Regions from separate parts of the Homo sapiens genome. Here regions 1 and 2 are each linked to region 3. Evidence: promoter capture Hi-C in human tissues and cell types (Jung and others, 2019). All regions are on one chromosome and are shown on one strand. The core of a region is centred on a gene start or on the middle of the fragment in contact, and the rest is flanking DNA. Distances in the headings are between cores, read along the strand shown.

Region 1 (3,993 bases), core at 123-2,622, 1.1 Mb after region 3:
TCCATCACTTAGGATATACATTTAAAAAATGATTTACTTATTAGATTTATAGTTATATACATTTAATTTATAGCAGAGATTATAAATTTTGGGCCATAACTACTTTCATATATGTTTTATTCAGTTAGCATATAGGTTATTATTATTTCACATCAGTCTTTATCTTTTGGTTTTAATAGGTGAATTTTACAGATGTTGATGTAGTAGCTGTGCTCGGTCTTACAGCTAACCTTTAGTCTCTGTTTTACCTTTTTTTTTTTGAAACGGAGTCTCATTGTGTTGCCCAGGCTGGAGTGCAGTGGCACGATCTTGGCTCACCGTAACCTCCGCCTCCCGGGTTCACACCATTCTCCTGCCTCAGCCTCCCGAGTAGCTGGGACTACAGGTGCCCACCACCACGCCCAGCTAATTTTTTTGTATTTTTAGTAGAAATGGGGTTTCACCGTGTTAGCCAGGATGGTCTCAATCTCCTGACCTCGTGATCCGCCCACCTCGGCCTCCCAAAGTACTGGGATTACAGGTATGAGCCACCGCGCCCGGCCTTCTGTTTTACCTTTTTAATACTTGCTTGTTTTCTTTCTTTATTTCCTGTTGTTAGATGGCCTCTGTTTCTTTGATTCATTTCCTGTTCTGTCTTTGTATAATTTTGGAAAATATATGGATTTACCCAGATGACTAGACAGCAGTAATTAACCAGAAATGGAAATGAGGAAATTCCATTCATAGTAATCACAAAATCAAAAATACTTAAGAATCAACAGAAAAGCACAGGATTTATATGAAGAAAATCTAAAATAGGATAGGAGCAAATAGAAATGCATACTTTGTCCTTGGATGAACAAATTTCATAAAAATGTCTATTTTCTGAAAGTACATAAATCTAATGCAATTCAGATTGGAACCTCAATAGTGTGTTGGAAGGGATGGCATATAATTGAATAAAATAATCTTTTTTTTTTTTTTTTTTTTGAGATGGAGTCTCCCTCTGTCGCCAGGCTGGAGTGCAGTCTTGTGATCTCGGCTCACTGCAACCTCCACCTCCCGGGTTCGAGCGATTCTCCTGCCTCTGCCTCCCAAGTAGCTGGGACTACAGGCGCGCACCACCACTACTGGCTAATTTTTGTATTTTTATTAAAGACGGGGTTTCACCATGTTGGCAAGGATGGTCTCCATCTCTTGACCTCGTGATCCTCCCACCTCGACCTCCAAAAGTGCTGGGATTACAGGCGTGAGCCACCGTGCCTGGCCTGAATAATATCATCTTAAACTTTTGGGACTTGCCTTACCAGTCATCAGAACATTTATACATTTATAAGCCTATTGTAATCAAGTCACTGTTGTAAGAATAGACAAGTGGACCAGAATAGAGAATCCAGAAATAGATCCTGTTAGTGGAAAAGTGAGTTATTTTGTTGTTTAGATCTTCTGTTTTCTTATTTTTGTTCACTTGATCCATCTTGTACTAAGAGTGGTATATTCATGTCTCACGTTATTAGTGTTTCTATTTATGTTTCCTTGCATCTCCTGTAGTTTTTGCTTTATAAAAGCTGTGGCTGTGCTATTTTGTTTTAAAATAATGCCTGGCTAATTCTTTTGCTTTTTAAAGTAATTTCATCTCTTTGCTTGGAGGTCTTTAGGATTTTATCTTTGTCTTTGAAATATAATAGTTTTTCTAGGCTATTTCTTGGAGTTGATTGTCTGGGTTAATTTTCTCAAGTACCTTGTATATTGATTCAGATATTTTTTCTATTTTAGAAAGTTTTCTTGCATTGTAGCTATAAAACCAGCTCTGTTTTTGTTTGTTTTGTATTTTTCTTCCTCACGTAATCCAATAATATGAATATTATTCTTTTTTCTTATCTTTTTCTAATTATTTCTCTCACCCTTTTCATTTTTCTTTATGTCATTGAGTCTACTCTTCCTTGAACACTTTTATAATTCATTCTTCATTGCTGAGATAATTTTGCCTTTTTCTTCATATTTCTTTCCTGAGTTCAATTACCTCTTTCCCTTTCTTTCTTCCTTTCCTTTTCTTCTTTTTCTTTCTTTTTGTCTATTTCTGCTTTCAGTTTTTGAATTTTTGATTCAGGATTTTTCATATCATCATATGTTTCAGTTTATTTAATTTTGTTTGGATTGTTAACTTACACTTTGCTTTGTCGTCATCAGGGAATTTCCCTCAATTGATAAATGTAAAATTTAATTTTGTTTTGTTTTCTGCAATAGCTCTGTATGCACTTGAGTTTTCTCATGTTCGTTTTTGTGGTATCGAGTATTTTATAATATTCTTAATTTAATTGCATTCTCTTCAGTCAATATAGCAAAGTCCAAATACAATAGCAGAAATTTTGTTTGTTTTACTTGAGGAAAGGGTTGTTCTGTCTTCAATTTTATGGGTCTATTTTGCCTTGCAGGACACTAAATATTTCCCCTTTTTCTTCTTTTACCCTTCACCACTCAGTTGTTAAAGCATGCTTCTCTCTTCCTTTTTGCTTTTTCTTTCCTCTGCGTTTCAACAAATGCTTATTTAACACTTGTCTTTTTAAATTGCACCTGCTGTCTTAAACCGTGCCTTCTGCTTTAAATTAAATGTACTTTAAAATCTCTTCCCTGTAGTCTGTGCTCTGATCTGCCCAGATACTTTTCCAGTGTTTTCAGATACGGTGTGGATTTAATCTTTCTGGGAGTCACTCCAAATCATTTTTAGCCCCCTTCACTAGCCTTTCTCCTCTGTCTTTTCTGCAGTTTTTCTTAGTCTGCCTTTGCTTGCCACAAAGCCTTATGGCTGGATGGAGGTGAAAGCATGTACCCTGGATTGGTTGACTTTTTCTCTTTTTTATTTACAATTATTTGCAATTTTGGCATTCTGTATCTTCAAGTTATGCTACAGGTGTGGTTTGGTATAGAATTTAATTTTTCCTTCTTGTTTTTCTTAAATTTTGGGCAGATAGCTATGCAGCTGCCATTGTCTTCAACTATGTAGAAGTCCTGGATTACTTAATAAATGGTGTTGGTATAACTAGCCTTCTACCTGGAAACAATAAAATTGGACTCAGCTTGTCCTATATAGAGTGTATTAAACTTCCAGATGAATGTAGAATTTATTTTAATTCCAGATGGACTAAAGACTCAGGTTTTTAAAAAAAATCTCTCAAGAATATCAAGGTGGTTTTGTATAGGTGATTACCTATATAATCTAGAATTCATGTGGAATCTGGGTGTGAGAGTCGGGCAGGGATACTCTTTTGACCAAGAATGGAAAACAGAAGCTATAAAATAAAAGATGTGTGTGTATGTAAAAGATAGATTTAGAAGAAATATTTGCAATGTTGAGGACAGACTGTGATAAAATACAAAAAACTTTTACAAGTTGACAAGATAACAAAATAGGAGAATGCATGAATAAATATTTCCCAGAAGAGCATATCCAGATGACCAACAAACATAAGATGTTCAGATTTATTAGTAATCAGAGAAATACAAATTAGAGTAACAACGTATCCCTGTACAGCTATCAAACTGGCCAAATTTAAAACAGCAAAATTACATATGGCTTATGTGGGAAGGGATGGAGGTAAATAAGGCACTTTTATGTCCTCTGCACAATGCTGGTGTTTAATACCAAATGAAGTCAGGGTGGGATGGAGGATCATGATTTTCCCCCCTCTTAAGTGCATACTTTACAAGTATCTTAGGAAGATGAATTAAGCATAGTAATCATAAACTTGTGAAGGCAAGTGTCATCAGATTTTATATTTAGAATTTACCAGGGCATAATGAGATATAAGAAACTCCTTTTAATTACTGTAGTCTGGGATCTTTATCATTGGAGTGCTTTCTTGAAGATCTGCCTGTGTCATGAAAATTAAATTCCCTTCAGTGATTGAGGTTTCTCTCTATTACCAGCTATTATAAGTGACATTCTGAGGACTTGCTTGAGAGACACCTTCCCTGCAATATTTTGTAATTAAAAATTTTGTGTGTATATAAAAA
Region 2 (3,644 bases), core at 522-3,021, 1.2 Mb after region 3:
TTGACCCTGTGAGGGGAATCTGCACAGTGCCATGATTTTATAACACACACTGTTTCGTTGCCAGAAACTGTTATTTCCTCATTGTCTTGACTATGTTTTCATTTTTGCAGAGACAGGGTCTCACTATGTTGCCCAGGCTAGTCTGGAACTCCTGGCCTCAAGCAGTCCTTCCACCTTGATCTCCCAAAGTGCTGGGATTACACACATGAGCCACTGTGCCCGGCCTCTCTTGACTTTTTGAAAACTCTGGAAAGGGGGAAGCACAAGTCCCTGATCTGAGGAGCTGAAGTGGGCCTGGTGCAGGTGCTTCCCTTGGTTTACTTTCAGCTCTTAGAGAGGCTTAGGCAGTTGTTTGCTGGCCTCATTCACTTAACAGATACTTGCAGTTTTTATGACCCTTAAGCAGCCTCAAGCAAACGTTGACCATCAGTTTTTAAAATTTAAGATTTCTCCAGACATCCTTCAAAGTATGGCTTTGTTCTGGGCCTCCTAGCTTTGTGGCCTTTGCCCAGGACTTCTGGCCGGATGAAGCCCACATCTTGTGAGCTTGGTTTTTAGCCAAAAGCAGATCTTGGGCATTGAATCCTAGAGCTGGAGGGAAAGTCTCTAAGGGGTCAGATGATCTCTGCCTTTATAAACCAAGAATCCAAGGTCAGGAGAGGGAAAGTTGGATCATAGGTGTGCCCCGACTAGAACTGGGAGCCTCTGCTTCCTGTCAGCGTGCCGTGGTAGAGCCGGGGTGGCTCAGTCACTTCCCCTCCGAACACTCATCCTGTGCAGAAACAGGCCAGTGTGTCTCTGTAAGACAAGCCTCAGAGCACCACCTCCTGCTAGCAGCCTGCTGCCTCCTGGGGGAGATCTGGAACCCTGACCTAAGAGCCTGTGGCCCTGGTCTCTCTGCCGGCACTGGGGCTCCTATGCAGACCAGTGCAACGTGGTGACAGGTCAGCCTTCAGCCAGGGAGCAGTGTCCTGCCCCAGTGGTGAGGTTCTGTTCTCTCCCACCACCTTCACCTGCAAGTGACCATTCGCTGCCTTGGCCAAACCTTAGAAAGAGTTAGCATTGCAGGAGTTGAGGGATGTCTATGATCTAATAGAGGCTGTGAGGGCATAGATAATCCCAAACCATTTCTGGGTGGCTCGGGAATACAATCAGGCTTCCATCAGCCCTGGCTCACCCCTTCCCTGGATATGCCTTGGGCTTCTTGACCTTTGCCTTTGCTGTGCCATGCCTGCCAATGGAAATATTCTCCTTAACGGTTGGAACCTGTGGCCCAGCTCAAAAGCTCTGTCTGCCACAAAGGGTGCCTGGCTTACCCACAGATAGACCTGGCTTGCTTCTTCCCAGTGCCTGGGATTTGTGTGTTGTGCCAGGCACTCAGCTTTTCTAGCCCCCCAAGGATATGAGGATACCTCCCCCTATCCCCCAGTCCCAAGAGGGTATTGGTCCCATTTTACAAATAAAGAAACGGAGGCTCAGAGAGGTCATATCTCGTCAAAAGCTATGAATGGCAAAGCTTGGAGATCACTCAAGAACACCCCCTCAACCTCAGCTGCATGTCTTCTAACTAGGGCTGAGTCACTCCAGGTAGGGCCTGGCCCAGCCCATGGCCAATACCCAGTAAATGCTTGTGAGATGAATTAGTTGGTGGATTAATTAAGTCTGCAGGGCTCTTTGTTATATGCTAACCTAAGTTTGAAAGGATTTTTCTTTTGTTTTTTACTTTTTTTTTTGTTTTTGAGACGGAGTCTTGCTCAGCTGCGCAGGCTGTGCAGTGAGTGCAGTGGCCCGATCTCGGCTCACTGCAACCACTGTCTCCCGGGTTCAAGCGATTCTCCCATCTCAGCCTCCCAAGTAGCTGGGATTACAGGCACCCGCCATCATGCCTAGCTAATTTTTGTATTTTAGAAGAGAGTTTTTCACCATGTTGATCAGGCCGGTCTTGAACTCCTGACCTCAGGTGATCCGCCCGCCTTGGCCTCCCAAAGTGCTAGGATTACAGGCGTGAGCCACTGCACCTGGCTGTTTTTTACCTTTTAATTTAGTGGGGAAGGGGCACGGAGATTCCATGCCCTCCCTGGACACACCACCCTCCAGGAACCTCCATGCATGTAGCTATCTGGAAGCTCCAAAAGTGGTTTTGTAGATTAAGTGAGGTATTGCGCTCTGTTAAGTGTTTTGCTCATGCCTGGTGGTGAACAGTGTCTGTTAGAAGGCAGAGTGGAGAGCCATGTGTCTCCATCAGTGCCCACCTTCTGGGGGCACCTAAAATGACCCTTCACTTCAGAACCCAAAGCTCCTCTGGCTAAGGTGGGGGCCAATTTGGGTCCCTAGAAACAGCACTGGACACAGCTGCCAGCACTGCTTGAGTTCTGTGATCACTATGTCTTGGGATGCAGGGGAGTTAGTTGGCATTGGAGGGTTAACTGGGAACTTAACCCTTACTACAAAAGAGCTTCCATGGGAAAGGGGGGTTGTCGGGGAATGCAGGTTACCCCATTCTAGCTCAACCTATAGTGACCCCTGCTTTACATAATCACAGTCCTTAAAAGAACCCCAAAAGCAAGGTTCCCTTGTTATCCTTAGTACTCAGATAAGAAAACAGGTTTGGAGAGGGCCAATCTGTCCTTGGTCACAGAGCTAGAAAGTGAGGGAAATGGGATGGAAACCCAGATCCATTAGATCCTGAAGCCAGGATCCTGTTGTTGTCCAGGCTAAGCCACCAATTTAGGACAAATAGAACATACTAGAAATTGGGGCTTTTTGGAGAAGATGAAAACAAAGGCCTGGGGTTTAAGTGGCTCTGTTGTAGACAAACATTCAACCCCCTGGAAGCCTGAGCTTGCTTTCAACAGTGTTCAGAGTAATGGGAGAAAAATTCGTTCCCAACAACGCCTCTCCAGAGTGCAAAGCAATGGTGGGCAAACTGAGAAATCACCAAAAAGCAGCCTGTGTCTCACAGGCTAGTAGCAGAGTCCTGCCACTCCACTGCAGCTGGTGGTGTGACAGAGCTGGCTCTCCTGACAAAGGGATTATGCTGGGCCAGGGCTTACTGTGGCTACCCTGTTTCTGGAGTAAGCACTGCCCCAGCCCGGAGCCCTTTGGCAGTCCCCAGAAGGGCTGGTGTGGGACAGGGTGCTGCTTGCCTGTCCACATGTTCTGCCTGGAACAAAATCCAGGGCCGCTGGGACTTCACCTATCATCTGTGCATGGCGCCCTGGTTCCTTCTGGGGGTAGGTTGGGCTGAGGGGGAACCTTCATCTCTCATTTCTTCCTCACATTAATCTGTCCATCCACTGCTACCCCCATCCCTTACCATAACCAAACAAAGCAGGTGCAGATGCTTGAATTAACAAGAACGAAGTCTAGTAATAAAAAGCAAATTTATTACCCAAAACTAGTAAAGGGGGAAGTAGCCAGATTGCTATTTAAAGTAACTGCTTCAATTTTTAGAGGGGAAAGCAATTTTTAGGGTTTTTAAAAGGGAAGACTTGATAAGGAAGGCATGCAAGAAATGGGCTGAGTATGATGTCTGTGTGTTTTGTTCTGGTGGCTATCTTGGGCTTCAGTCCACCTGGACCTCGGATTGACATTATTTTAACAATGGTCAGGTTGTTAATTAGCCATTTTGAAGTAATTTTTGG
Region 3 (3,942 bases), core at 720-3,219:
TATAGGCTGGGTGCAATAGCTCATGCCTGTAACCCCAACACTTTCGGAGGCCGAGGCAGGCGGATCACCTGAGGTCAGGAGTTCGAGACCAGCCTGACCAACATGGAGAAACCCCATGTCTACTAAAAATACAAAATTAGCCAGGCGTGGTGGTGCATGCCTGTAATCCCAGCTATTCAGGAGGCTGAGGCAGGAGAATTGCTTGAACCCAGGAGGTGGCGGTTGCGGTGAGCCAATATCTCGCCACTGCACTCCAGCCTGGGCAACAAGAGCGAAACTCCGTCTCAAAAAAAAAAAAAAAGAAAAGAAAGTGACAATGTGAGAGATTCAGGACCAAGGGTGTACAGAGCTGAGCCGGGCCCAGGAGGTGTCCGGAGAACTTCCCTTAATCAGGGGCCAGCGCAGATCAGGAGATGGAGTAATCCTGACCCACATCCTCTGGGAGCAGGGGAGGGGCCCTGGCCAGAGAGCCCAGCCCTTGCAGCAGGGGCCTGGGGCAGGCAGATGGCAGCCCCACCTAACAGCCAGAAAGAAACCGCAGCAAATCACAGAGGCCTGACTTTGCCCCCTACCTTCACCCACTGAGAGAACCGGCCACTGTCAGGCCAGGAGTATGAGGAGGACAGGCACTATATTTTGTAGAAGAGGAAATGAAGGCTGAGAGGGGAAGTGACTTATCTACCATCCCACAGAAAGGCAGGGCCTGGCCTAGAGGGAGCCCTGACGGACCACTAGCTGCTCCTATCCATGGCCCTGGAAAAGTGGGAGGTGGGCACTGAAGGGACACAGGCAGTCCGGTCCACTCAGGGCTTCCCAGCTGGCCAGGGTTCCCCCAAGGCAGAGAACTTCATCTTTCCTCCCCATCCAAGGAGGCAAAGACATGCCCCTTCCCTTGGGCTGAGAGGGGCTGAAGCTGGGACCCCCTCAGGGGATAAGAAACAAATTCACCTTCCTCTAGACCCAACAGGCCCCTCATTTTAACTTAATCATTCCACAGGCATATATTAAGTGCTTGCTGCGTGCTGGACCCTCGGATAAAGCGGCTGCTGGCAGAACTGAGTTTGCAAGTAAAGGGCAGGGGCAGGGGCAAGACCCAATCCCAGGCCAAGAGTGTTTTGAGTGGTTAGAAGGAGGCTCCAGGGACACAGTTGGTCCAGCCCTCGGGTGGGGAAGGCAGGGACTAAGATCAGACCCTAGGTGGGCCGGACTCCCGATTCCTTCCCTACAGCTAGCTGCTCAGATGGATGTGGAGCGGGGAGAGAGTGGGGGAAAAGATACAGAGACTTATACAAGGGAGAAAAAAGCAACTTCTCCAATCCTCCTGCCACCAAAGCATGGTCACATCCTTGAGACAGGAACCCCCCAACACACACATACACACACACACAGAGTCAGGATCCGATCCTTGAGACAGGAACCCCCCAACACACACATACACACACACACACAGTCAGGATCCGACACACACACACACACACACACACACACACACAGAGAGAGAGAGAGAGTCAGGATCCGACCACGGTAATCGGGGTTCGAGCCCAGTCACCCAGGCCACTTTCAGCAAGTCATCAATCTCGCTGGAGTCTCAGTCTCCTGGTCAATCCAATGGGAACGGTAACAACCACGACGCCCCACAACTGGTGAGAAAGTCAGCGAGAATGAAGGAGGACGCGGTCTGCGAAGTCCCCGATATGGATCCAGCCCCTCGCCCCTGCCCCATTTGCCCAGGCTCTTCCTGAGGTGAGACTGGCGGGAGTGGGGCGGGCAGGAACGAGGGCCTGAGCCCAGGACCGCAATCCCCGTGAGGGGCTCGAGGACCCCAGCCCAACGCCCCGCCGGGCCCCGCCCTCACCTCCTCCTCCATGGCGAGTCCGCCGAGGTCCCGCCGCTCCGCCACTCGCTTCCAGCGCCGCGCGGGCTCTGCCACCGCGTCTACGCCCGGCCAGGCGGCGACTCTCCGCGTTCTGTCCCGCCGGCTGCCGGGGGCCCAAGAAACTTCGGGGGGGCGGGGCCGGGGGCGGGGTGAGGCTTCCGGGGGCCGGGGCGGGGCCGGGGAGGGGGCGGTGGGGCCGGGGGCCCGGCCCAGGGCGGGAAATGGGTGGGGAGGGGCGGGGCCTGGGTTGGAGACTGGACGGAGGAGCCGGGCGGAGATGCAACTGGAGGAAGAGGGCGGGACGGGGCGGAGAAGGTTTCCCGCATCGGCGGAGGGAGAGGGACTAGGAGGGGGCTGCGGCGGGGGAGGAGAGGGGGCTTCCGGCCCAGAGACTGAGGCGAGGGTGGCGGGAGCGGCGCGCAGGCAGGGCTGGGGTGGGGCGCACACAGTGAGCGCTGGGGGCGCTGGCGGTGGAGCCTTTGAGGTCTCCCGAACCAGTGGGCTGGGGTTGCGAGACCGAGCCGAGCTGCCCTGGGCGGCCAGAGATGTGGGCACACAGAGGCTCCTCCTCTTTCCTCCCCGACGCCGGGCAGTGGGCGGTGGCCTGGTCTTCTCCCTGGAACCTCTGGGCGGGGCCGGGCCTGGAGCTTGGGTCTCTGTCCGGAGGGTGGTGTCACAGGAAGAGCTGGAGCTGAGAGTCGGGACTCCGGGGTCCCTTTAGGGGGCGGCCCGCCCCTGGCTCTCAGGGGTCTCCAAGCGCAGTGTTCTCCTGCTCTCCTTGGGCATCGCTCAATCCCTCCCGTATCTGAGGGTCGACCATCCCCCCGATCCCGCGGTGAGCTTGCAGCCCTGACAGCCTTACTGGAGAGTGGGAGTGTGGGGACCAGCAGAGAGTAATGATTTTAGTTATACCATGCGCCCTCATTTTACATTGGAGAAACTGAGGCCCAGAGAGAGAAAGTAACTGGCTGCATCGCAGCCTGCAGCACCGCTCCCCTCTCACACACACACGCATACTCCCCCTTAGCTCTCCTGGTCAACCCCGTCCCATGCCAAGGAAGGGAAAATTAAGTGCATGTGAGATCAATGGTGACCTTCTTCGGCTCTGGCTGCCATAGCAGCGGCTGTGCCAGCGACCAAGCTCCCCTTTCACGGCCTTCTGCCAGCCCTCAGGCTCCCAGGCTACTTCCAGCCCTGTACGGAAAAGGGCAGCCTGGGGCTCCCAGGCCAAGGGGGAAGGAGATGCAGGTACACTTCTCCCTCATGCCTAGGCCTGGGATCCTTTAGCTAAAGGAATGAAGAAAATTGAGGCTGATATTATCACACTGGTCAAGAAAAAGAAAGAATAGAAAAGAAAGAGAGAGGAAGGAGAGAGAGAGGAAGGAGGGAGGGAAGGAAGGAAAAAAGGAAAGAAAGAAAAAGAAAAGAAAGAGAAATGAAGGAAGGAAAGAAAGAAAAGAAACAAGGAAGGAGAGAGGAAGGAAGGACGGAGGGAAGGAAGGAAAGAAAAGAAAGAGCTGGGAGCGGTGGCTCACACCTGTAATCCCAGCACTTTGGGAGGCTGAGGCAGGCTGATCACCTGAGGTCGGGAGTTCAGACCAACCTGACCAACGTGGAGAAACCCCGTCTCTACTAAAAATAGAAAATTAGCCAGGCGAGGTGGTGCATCCCTGTAATCCCAGCTACTTGAGCGGCTGAGGCAGGAGAATCGCTTGAGCCCGAAAGGCGGAGGTTGCAGTGAGCTGAGATCACGCCATTGCACTCCAGTCTGGGCAACAGGAGTGAAACTCTGTCAAAAAAAAAAAGGGAGAGAGAGAGAAGGGAGGGAGGGAGGGACGCAAGGAGGGAAAAGAGAAAGAAAGAGAAAGAAAGAAAGGAAAGAAAAAGAGAGAAAGAAAGGAAGGAAGGAAAGATGAAGGAAAATTGAGGCTGAGGATCTGAGATAGTCTGTATATGTAGCAACCTCTTTCGGCCACCACATGGTTTTACTCCCTCAATCTGCAGAGCTGTGCAGCATTCTACTCCAATGATCAAGGACTCAGAAGATCTTGTATCTGGAAACTCAT

Evidence for each region. Contacts are between HindIII fragments. The study calls those that stand out against the background at their distance.
Region 1: a fragment that was not itself captured here is called in contact with the fragment with the promoter of PLEKHO2 in region 3 in 1 of the 25 tissues and cell types used here (pancreas).
Region 2: a fragment that was not itself captured here is called in contact with the fragment with the promoter of PLEKHO2 in region 3 in 1 of the 25 tissues and cell types used here (dorsolateral prefrontal cortex).

Annotation. Positions count from the first base shown.
Region 1 is chr15:63,776,989-63,780,981 of GRCh38, reverse strand. All of the region lies in intron 1 of HERC1 (HECT and RLD domain containing E3 ubiquitin protein ligase family member 1), which reads left to right. Among named protein-coding and RNA genes, the nearest start is that of HERC1, 55 kb to the left of the region's middle. The HindIII fragment of the contact is 4,733 bases long and covers 1-3,738 here.
Region 2 is chr15:63,603,153-63,606,796 of GRCh38, reverse strand. It overlaps a transcript of FBXL22 not described here. Among named protein-coding and RNA genes, the nearest start is that of USP3-AS1, 4.1 kb to the right of the region's middle. The HindIII fragment of the contact is 8,176 bases long and covers 1-3,644 here.
Region 3 is chr15:64,839,942-64,843,883 of GRCh38, reverse strand. PLEKHO2 (pleckstrin homology domain containing O2) reads right to left here and starts at 1,969. Exons shown (of 6, transcript NM_025201.5): 1 at 1,856-1,969. The coding sequence starts at 1,867. LOC124903508 (a long non-coding RNA gene) reads left to right here and starts at 3,728. Exons shown (of 4, transcript XR_007064682.1): 1 at 3,728-3,942. RefSeq lists enhancers at 762-1,313, 1,346-1,869 and silencers at 1,677-2,116, 2,127-2,446. The HindIII fragment of the contact is 9,878 bases long and covers 1-3,942 here.